Linked DNA regions of Homo sapiens: regions 1 and 2 are each linked to region 3. Evidence: promoter capture Hi-C in 16 types of primary human blood cells and fetal thymus (Javierre and others, 2016). All regions are on one chromosome and are shown on one strand. The core of a region is centred on a gene start or on the middle of the fragment in contact, and the rest is flanking DNA. Distances in the headings are between cores, read along the strand shown.

Region 1 (3,313 bases), core at 232-2,731, 160 kb after region 3:
AGTATTACCACGCCTGGCTAATTTTTGTATTTTCAGTAGAGATGGGGTTTCACCATGTTGGCCAGGCTGGTCTCGAACTCCTGACCTCGTGATCCACCTGCTTCAGCCTCCAAAAGTGCTGGGATTACAGGCTTGAGCCACCATGCCCCGCCTCTTTGTTCTTAATTCTGTTTTCATTTGTTCTCTAGCCAAGACCCCAAGTCTATAATGATCAAGAGGGTTGTTTTATTTTTGACAAGTGGAAACCCACATGTTTCTGAAAAGTGGAGTGGTGGTGGTGGTGGTGGTGGTAGCATAATCTGGAAGACCCCTAAAGAAGGCAGTGCTACCTGCCATATTTGACTTGGGGGTCAGAGCGAGAGTCTGAGTTGGAGAGTTGGGAAGCTAGAAAAATGAAGGACTAAAGTAAGAGATATTCCTTATTTCTCCTTTTCCTTTTCCACATATCTTGAGAAAGAGAAAGGTTTTTAGTTCAGCAGAAAATGGGAGATGCTGGGGCAGAGATAAAAATGCTCCCCAAACATGGCAGGGACTTCCTTGTATTTCTCGTTCTCCTTGTAGTTAGGTTGAGCTAAAGGAGATGCTACTAATGAAATTTGAAATCTTAGGGTCAGACATGTGGGAATGCACTGCCTACCCTTCCATCTTGGCAGTGACACGGGCTCATTCCCCCCAGTTTCCAGAGCTGTGTCCTTTTCATTCCTCTTTCCAAATCCACCTCCACTCAAGCTTTCAATCTGTGCCTGGGCTCTGGTTTGAATGAGCCACTGATATATTTGCAGCCACCGGGGATCTGGAGTGCAGATGCAAATGGCAGTGTTCCCTGGTAAGTGTTGGTGACAATTGGATCTTTCTCTGATTTGCATTCCCAAGGCCTGCAGGTTTTCAGAAAATCACATCTTATAGGCAGTTCTGGGGAGGGGGGAGGTTTATTTTCAATGTCAGCTACAAATGCCGGCCCATGATAATTCTTAGAATGAAAGACCTCTCATTTGCAAAGGAGAGGATAGTTAGAGCCAGAACAATTCACTTAGCAAAAATTTGGGCCCAAAAATATATATATAGGAGAAGGGATTGTTGGTGGGTAGAGAGGCCTGGAGATCAAGAGCAAGAGATGAGATAAACACAAGTTTGGAAGCCATTGGCTTGTGAGGGGACCTGAGCACTTAGAATAGAGGAGACCCCTCAGGGAGAGCTTGTATGGAGAGAGAGAAAGGTGCATCCTGACCCCATCCTGGGCATTTCTCTTTGAAACTCAGCCTTGTTATAATTCATTTCTAATTCTGATATCAGCAGTGAGGGTTCATCTAATCTATTCTCATCACTTCTTGAGCCTCTCAGCTCTCACTGGTCCTGGCTCTTGCCTGGAGATGATTTTACTCAAAATTCTAGTCCAGGATTTAGAATTGGTCTAAGTACAGATGTGCATCAGGAGGCTATTTCAAAATCCCAGATGAGCTCATACATAAAGTAAGGATTAATTTTTTATTTTGTGAACCAATTGTGTAAAAAAAAAAAAAAACAACAATGCACATTAGGAAAGTAATTCATTTAATTTCCATGACCCAGCCCCTCCTGCCTACAAGCCCCCCTCCCCCATCCCATGCAATCCACCTCATAGGTAAAAACATATTCTGGGCAAACTGACTCATTTCATGTCACATTTATCCCACTCAAGTTTGTCCCTCCTGCTTTGAGCCTGGATTCCACGTAAAGGTGGAAGGTGATTTGGGCTGGTCTCCAGGCAGTCACCACCTGCAACCTATTTTCTTCTCATCACGACACCTACGTTCAGTGTCACCTTTTCTTCTCCCTTGGGCTGCCCCTTTCTTGCTCACTCCCATGTTCCAATGCCAGCAGCTCTGTCTTTGTGCTCAGCCATGCTTGTTGTTCAGCAGCATTCCTCATTAGAATCCCATTATTTGATGGTCAGAGTAGGGTCTCCATGGTGATACAGGCACAAGTGTAGCCAGTATTCTGCCACCGCATCTTACCTACTTGGCAGGCAAGCTAGAGTTGGCCTAAATTCTGCTTTTATCATTTATGTGTTTGTTCTTATGCTTTTAGGAAAAAAAAATCCTGAAATAATGGTGAAGGACAGCAAGTATTTGCCTAGAGTGCATGCTAAGAAGTCTCCATAGATGTTTTTCTTTAAGTATCCTGACCGCTTAACATATTGATGAAGACCTCTTATTTCCAGGTCAACAATCAGCTGTTACCAACTTAAGCTTTCTAAACATTTTCTGTGAAACAAATTTTTGCCAGTAAGAAAAGGAAATTGGGAGCTGCCACTGCTTAATTAATTTGAAGCTTTGATAAGCTTTGCCAGAGAGTCGCATAATAGAATTAGCAAGTTTCTTAACAGGTGAGAAAGCACATGAGCATAAACAAAAATAGGATAAGACTATCATCAATGGGGTTTATGCACCAGCTTAAAAAGCCAGTTTGGGGGACTTTTATGACTCTGAATTAAGATTTGTGCAATATAAGATTGTCCAGGATAAAATATTTTGGGCACCAAATATTAAGCTTCTGAAATAGACCCAGAGGTTCTTGTATGATAAAAAAAAAGTATGTATAAGGTTTTGATTTGATTTTTTAAATAATGTGTTCACTACTTCCCTTTCTTCTGAGACTCCATAGAGAAAAAAATATCATAACACTAAAGAGAAGGGAATGAGGATGGCCAAGAGCAGACTGGAGATTTCATCCTATTTCTTGGTTGTGGACAATCAGAAAAAGCATATTGTAGATGAAGTGGAGTAAAGGATGCTCAGAATATGCATGTCATGGGCCTCTGGGAATGTGGTGGCTGATCAGGCTGCTAGAAGCCTGGAGGGCCTTGGCTATCGGATTCCTAGCTTTGGATAGCAGGAGCGAGACATTGTGCAAAAACCAGAGGCATCATTAAAATTCTGTCTGCCATATAGCTGCATCATTGATGCTTTCCAGTGCCTTCCTTGCCACTGCATACAGAACCATCGAAAACCTTCATATTGAGAATTCTTTTCTAGAAAAATTGAATACATTTCCAAGGAAGAACTAGGGCTTCAAGTGCAGATATTTGCACATAGATTAAACCCTTTTTTTATTATGGCATTTTGAATTTCCAGGCTAATGTCAGATTCCACACCCACATACCTAAAAGAGGAGCCAGCCTGTCAAGGTGGCCCAGTTACAAAAGAGAGCTTCCAATCAGCCTTTCCATTCAGGAGACCGTTCTACTGGAGAATGATACCTGCTTACCCAAAACAGCCTTTCCTTTTCCTTCATGAATTACTAATCAAGGATGATCAGAAATAGGAACAAAATC
Region 2 (3,013 bases), core at 311-2,810, 140 kb before region 3:
TGCAGGCCCCATACCTTGAAAGGACACACCTTGGAAGAAAAATGGGTATATATTTGGTAGGGCCTGGGCAAGGGGCTTGCTGGTTGGAACAGCAGGAAAAGAAGAAACCAGGTTTCCAGTCTACCTTTTCCACCTCTGCTTGTGTGGGTTCTGGGAGGGTTTCTCTCCAAGACCTCGTATCTTTGCTACTGTTGTTGTCCCTGGACAAATTGGGGATCCCGAGGTGGCTGTGATTTTGTTTTGCTGAACTGCCCTCTGGCTCTCTTTCCTGTACATTGGGAAATTCTGAGATGGGAAGACTAGTAAAGTACTTGGAAAGGCTAAGAACTGGCTTAGAAGTAAAGTTGAAGTTAACAGGGTCAATGAGAATTTTGGTGGCTTTTTTAAAACTTACATCCCTTCAGAGTTATTTAAACAGAAAAAATCATTTATTAGGGAAAGACCCACAGAATCTGTAGGAGGACAATAGAGTTGGGCAAAGATGAAGCCAGGAACCAAGGCACAGCATATAGAGGGACTGCTCTAGTGAAGACGCCACAGTTCCGCTGCTAGTGACCAACAATATATGATGTTGGGGAGTCAGATACCAGACCCTCAGCCCTGAGAAGCTCAGTGCTCCATCACATCCTTCTCTCCATAAGATGCCTGCCTCAACACATGACCCTGTCCAGGAGCAGAATCATGCATAGGCATCTAAGTGAGGAAGCCTGAGTTACTGGGAAGGAGTCAGCTGTAATGGGGAAAGGGATTTCAGGACATCAAAGATGTCTGGGTGATTTTTAGGAAGGCTTGCAATGTGGTGTGGGAGGAGCCCTCCCTCTCTCACCCCTCAACCTCCACATCAAAATCAATTACCCGTCATTGCACTGGGACTTATGGCCCATGACGGATGCAATTATATCCTGGCCACAAGGCTAGGGAAGGAAGTCTAAGGAGGTTCAGTCATAATGTGATTATGTTCACAAAATATAGGCCTATTTTCAGCTTTACCTAATGCCACTATTAAACTTGAAAGTCATTGGACTTTGGCAAAATATTTTGCTGCATGAGTAGTTGAAATTAAAAGCTTCAGCAAAAGAAATTTACTCCCAAATTATTTAAACCATTTTACCCAGAATATTCCTAGAAAACTATGTTATCAAAGAGTACAACATGATATCGTTCATTGTATTTTCCTATAAGGACAATATGATAGAAGGTTGGTTTTCTGACTAAAACTTACCATTAAATTAATCCTCTATATGGCCAAAAATACACCAAAATAAAAGTATTATCAATCTTTGAAATAAAGTAGTGAAATAAGTCTAATTCTTTAATAAAATCTGTATAAGCAGTACTATTCTTAATGCAAGTGTCCCAATCATAAAAAGCACATATAGATCCTAAAAAATTTAACTTGGTATTATAAACTTAACTATTTTTATAATAGGTTAGATTTACTAATCTTTTATAAAGTCTAGATTGTTTTTCGTAGAGAGAACTTTAGAATAAATGTTTAGACAGCCTAGATACCTTAAAATTGTTTGTTAAAGATGTTTGAAATAGATATTTTCTTTTCTTTTTTTTTTTAGATGGAGTCTCACTCTGTCAACCAGGCTCGGGTACAGTGGTGTGATCTCAGCTCACTGCAAACTCTGCCTCTTGGGTTCAAGTGATCCTCCTGCCTCAGGCTCCCAATCAGCTAGGACTACAGGTGTGTGCCACCACACCTGGCTAATGTTTGTACTTTTAGTAGAGAGGGGATTTCACCACGTTGGCCAGGCTGGTCTCAAACTCCTGACCTCAGGTGATACACCCGCCTCAGCCTCCCAAAGTGCTGGGATTACAGGTGTGAGCCACCACACCCACACTTCTTCTTCTTTAAACATTTCTTTGATAAGCAGAAACCTTCAAAATCATTCTACTGATCTTAATGCTACCTCAAACTAGCAGAGCAGAATTTTAAATCTATGTTTCATGGTGGCTATATTAATAATGATTATAGTGCTTCTCCCACCACAACTCAAAAAACTAAAAAACTCTAAAATCTAACCAGTGTCATATATAAAGCTTAGAGTCAGACCTCTGTCTCCATTTAGGAAATACTTGACATTGAGCCAGGCTTGTGTGGCCTAACCCAGCCCCAATTCTCTCCTTCCTCAAATGAAATAATATCTATGAAATTTCTTGAAATTAAGCACTGTACAAACATAAATTATTTTTATTTGTGGAAAAAGAAGTGGAACATTCTCCTAGCAAGATGAGAGCTGGAGAGTCATCTTTATTAAGGGAGCTGGGAGAATTTCACTGGATTCCTTTTCATTTGACTTAGAGGTAGATGGAGAGAGGAAGGAGGTCTGTAAGGCAGTTTCTCAGTCAGCACCCCTCACTTTCCTTCTCCATCTTCAAGACAGCTGCTGTATATTCACTATCAACAGGAACAAAGACAAGATGAAAAAGGGCTCCTGTGCCTCTGAACAGCTTCTGGACCTCAATTTACTCTTGGATAATCATTTCTGGCCCCTACACTCACTACCCTCTTTTGACCTCCCTCTGGCTCCAGTGTGCCCATGTCCACCCTACCTGGCCAGAAGATGGCTTCCTGAACTGGACTCTATCGTCACCTTTGTAGAGGGCTTAACCCAGTAGCCCTCTACAGGCTACAGTCAGCTTCCAGGATGTGAGGGAGCACTGAAACTTTCTGCATTTATTGCAAAGCTTGAGGAATAGTTTCAATTAACAGAGCTTCTAAAAAGGTGCTTCCAAAATATCTCTCACAACCTACCAAGGATGGCATAAAACACTTCAGGTTTGAGGCAGAGAACTGTTGGAACAGTTTGTATTTTGCGAAGGAGAAAAATATGAAAATGTTCAGTTTACAAGGCACAGCAGGATAGAAGTAAATGTGTGAGGAAATAAAAATTAATCTCTGTTTCTAGCATTGGCTTGACTGGCACCTTTCTTCTAAACTCTTCAAAGCATTTCAACATAAAAATATCTACTATTCACTGAGGGCTTATCATGGACTGGACAC
Region 3 (3,353 bases), core at 203-2,702:
CTCTCCACTATTGAAATAGGGTATCAGACCCTGCCACGAACTACACTAAACGATTAAAATCTAAGCAGACCTGCAACTGATTATTATCTCATTCCTTCCCGCGGTTTTATAGATGTAGATTTGGCTTATTTCTTCATGCACATACACCGAAGATGGATTCTGTCACCATAATCTCATCTCCTCAATCTGCAATTCAGTTGTTAGTGTCTTCTTCTTGCACATCTTCATCTGCCACCCCATGGGATGTAGCTCTCCATTCATAATCTAAAGGTTAGAAAGTTGCATCCATAAGACTTAGCCTCCCTGTTAGGAGCCCACACCAGGGACCCCTGGCCCATTGCCTTCTCTCTCTGCAACCTCGGAGAGACCTAAAAGTGGGCGAGGTGCAGTCAGAGCCTGGATGGGCACTTGCTTCTGTGAATGCCCACCTGCCCACTCTCTCACACTTTGGGCTTTCTGGGTACACCTTAGACAAAAGGGTCTCCTTGCCCTTTCTCATGCATCTTTTCTGGACTCCACTTCTTACCTGCTGTAACCACAGTGCTCATTTAACCCTTGCAACTTAGACCTTCATCTCCTCCCCATGGGGCTTGAGGTATCTACCTGGCCCAGTCCCACTAGCCAGAGGCCAATCTTTCTCTCTCTTTGCTGCTTCGGGACCGCCTTGCTTTCATTTGTCCGAGAAGATCACGTCTCAGAAAAGTTAAACTGGATTCAAGACGATGTCTCCTAGCCAGCCTCGGGTCCTGACATTGTTGTTAGTCTACTGCGAATGAACTGTCCTCCTCATATTCTCCAATCCCCAACCAGGCCTGGAGGTCAACTATCTGCACATCCCCACACCCACCCCTGAATGTCCAGCGAGCACAGAGAAGTGGACTACACGATTCACTTGCAAAGACTTCACCTTCTGTTTGGATGGACAAAATAGCGCACTCGAAACAACAGAGCCCAAAGCTGTGTCCAATCACGTTCCTGTGTGTGTCCCAGATGCGGCCCCAGGAGGAAAACAAGTGTTTGCGGAATTTGGTGGCCAAAGGCCCTTGGGCCTGGCTTTATTCTCACCACCACCCCACTTTCTCTCAGGGCATCCCCTGACCCCGGCCCGCAAAATCCATCAACCAGAACCTCGGGGTAGGCCCTGGGTTCGTGCCTCGGCTCCTGAAACCCAAGCCGGGGTTCTCCAGGAGAGAGCCCCGGGAGCGGGGCTTGGCACGGGCGGGAGGAGGGGGGCGGCGACGGCGGCCCCAGATCCCCGAGGGAGCGCCCCGGCACGGCCGGAGCAGGGGCGGGGAGGCGCGGGGCGCAGCCAATCCCCGGGCCGCCCCCTCCCCGGCCGCGGCGAGCCGAGCCGGGGCGGGGGAGCCAGGCGGCGGCGGCGGCGGCGGCGGCGGCGGCGACGGAGCTGCCGTGGGGAGGGATGGAGAGGGGAGGGGGGAGCGGAGCCGAGCGGAGACAGCCGCGGCGCTGCAGAGCGGCTGGGGCGGCGGCGCGGCTCCCGGTGCTCCCCCCGGCGCGCGCCCCGAGTCGGTGAGGGCCCGGCTCTGCGGCCCCCGGAGCCATGGGCTGCATCGGCTCCCGGACTGTGGGTGGGTACCGCGGCCGGGCGGGGGCAGGGCTGGGCCCCCCGGGCCGCCCTCCGACCCCCTCCCCCATCCCTCTCCTCGCGCCTCCGGGCGCCCCGCTCCGCACCCGCCTTGCCCTGCTAGCTCCTTCACTTTCCTTCCGTCCGCCCGCGGTCCCTCTGTCCCTCCTTCCTGCCCGCTCTCGTCTTGCGCCTCCGGGGCTGCCATCCCGCTCGGCTCGCTTCCTTCTCCCCGTCGCCCTCCCGCAGGCGCGGTCCTCTCCATCCTCTCCATCGCCCTCCTCTCCTCTGCCTCTCGGCCCGACGCTCGGTCCCCTCATCCCTGCCCCTCCAGGCCATCCGCCTCTGCTCCGCCGTCCCCAGCGCCTCCTCGCATCCCCCACTCCGGAGCAGCCCCCCGCGAAGGACCCTCGGCCTCCGCGCCAGCCCCGAGTTTCTTTCGCACGCCCCCCACGCCACCCCCCGCCGCCGCCTCCATCTGGCTCGGGTGCTTTGCCCCATCTCTCTCTCCCTCTCCGTTGCCTTTTACTGTCGTTCCTGCCTCCTCCGATTCGCTTTGTTCACGTGCGTTTTCCCTCTGGGGCGGGGGCGGGATGAGCCCGGGTTCCACGCCCGGAGGGACAGGGCCAGGGCCGGGTGGAGGGAAGGGGCTGGGGGACGCGGGGAGGAGATGGGGGCTTCGAGGCGCTGGGAGGGGTCGGGAGCCCGCGGCCCGGGAGGGTGGGGCCGGCCCTGCCTCGGCGGCCGGGGACCCGCCTGCACCTGTCAGCGGGGGCCGGCGGGGCGGGGCCGGCTCTTTATTTACCTTTGACGCGGGGAGGGAAGAGAGGCGCCTCCTAATCCATCTTCTCCCTCCAGCTTCTGCCTGGCTACCGCCCCTGACCCCCACCCAGGCACCCACTCCACTCTCGCCGCTCAGCGAATTCATCCGGCCCTCTCCCACCCCCTCCCCCATTCTTCCCCTTTCCAACTCCCAATTTCTCCCGCCTACACCTCCCGGTGACCTCAGGCTGAGAGAATAATTCGTATTATTATTACAAACAAACTCACTCTCCAGAAGCCTGATTTCCCTGAGACCCGGTTTATTTCCATGGATACCCCCTCCTCCTCTGCTTTCACCCCTTCTCCGCGGCTCTCTCCCTCCCCGCTGCCCCCCACAGCTCTGACTCAGCTCTCCGTCTCTCACAAAGGCCACCTCCCGCTCCCCTCTCCCCCCGCACCCCGCCCTCCCCTGTCTCCCTTCTCCTCAGGCTCTTCTCCACCTGCCCCATTCCTGCTGTGTCCGGAGGGCCATCTTTCCTCTTTTCCCCCAGTCACCACCCCGCGGAGCCCCAGGGGACAGCAGGCCAACTTTGGAGGGTCCTCCCTCCTCAGTCCGGTTCACCACAAGCCCCTTCCTTTCCCCCAGCCCTGCTGATGTGCTGAATGCCTCCTCGTGCCCAGCCCCATTCAATGCTCCCCTTCCCAAAAATGGAGCCGACCCCTAAACTCACAATTGTAAAACCTCATGAGTATAAAGGGCCTGTACGGTCAGATGGTTCAGGCAGCCATCTGCTGCTTGAATAGTCCCTTTATGAAGACCCAAGCAGTTCTTCCGCAAGACTCTCCGCGGCACCATCCTGCCCTCAGTCCAGGAGTCTCCCTCCACCAGGAGCTCTGGCCCGGCTGTAACAAGGACCCTCCTTCCCCTGAGTCCTGCAGTTTCCCACTCAGCCCTCAGACCCTGTCCACCCCTCCCACCATCTTCTGTCTTCTCTCTGACTTGAAT

Evidence for each region. The method cuts DNA at HindIII sites, captures the fragments that hold promoters and counts their contacts. A CHiCAGO score of 5 or more calls a contact.
Region 1: a contact is called between a fragment that was not itself captured here and the fragment with the promoter of FAM131B in region 3, in 1 of 17 cell types (neutrophils). The highest score is 5.8, in neutrophils.
Region 2: a contact is called between a fragment that was not itself captured here and the fragment with the promoter of FAM131B in region 3, in 1 of 17 cell types (M0 macrophages). The highest score is 7.2, in M0 macrophages.

Annotation. Positions count from the first base shown.
Region 1 is chr7:143,202,228-143,205,540 of GRCh38, reverse strand. It overlaps LOC124901764 (a long non-coding RNA gene), which reads left to right. Exons shown (of 2, transcript XR_007060567.1): 1 at 1-2,365; 2 at 3,114-3,313. Among named protein-coding and RNA genes, the nearest start is that of TAS2R40, 18 kb to the left of the region's middle. The HindIII fragment of the contact is 1,499 bases long and covers 732-2,230 here.
Region 2 is chr7:143,501,290-143,504,302 of GRCh38, reverse strand. All of the region lies in intron 2 of EPHA1-AS1 (EPHA1 antisense RNA 1), which reads right to left. Among named protein-coding and RNA genes, the nearest start is that of TAS2R41, 25 kb to the right of the region's middle. The HindIII fragment of the contact is 983 bases long and covers 1,069-2,051 here.
Region 3 is chr7:143,360,812-143,364,164 of GRCh38, reverse strand. It overlaps FAM131B (family with sequence similarity 131 member B), which reads left to right and starts at 1,452. Exons shown (of 7, transcript NM_001031690.3): 1 at 1,452-1,589. The coding sequence starts at 1,562. It overlaps FAM131B-AS1 (FAM131B antisense RNA 1), which reads right to left and starts at 2,459. Exons shown (of 3, transcript NR_183342.1): 1 at 2,108-2,459; 2 at 908-975; 3 at 1-264. The HindIII fragment of the contact is 5,612 bases long and covers 1-3,353 here.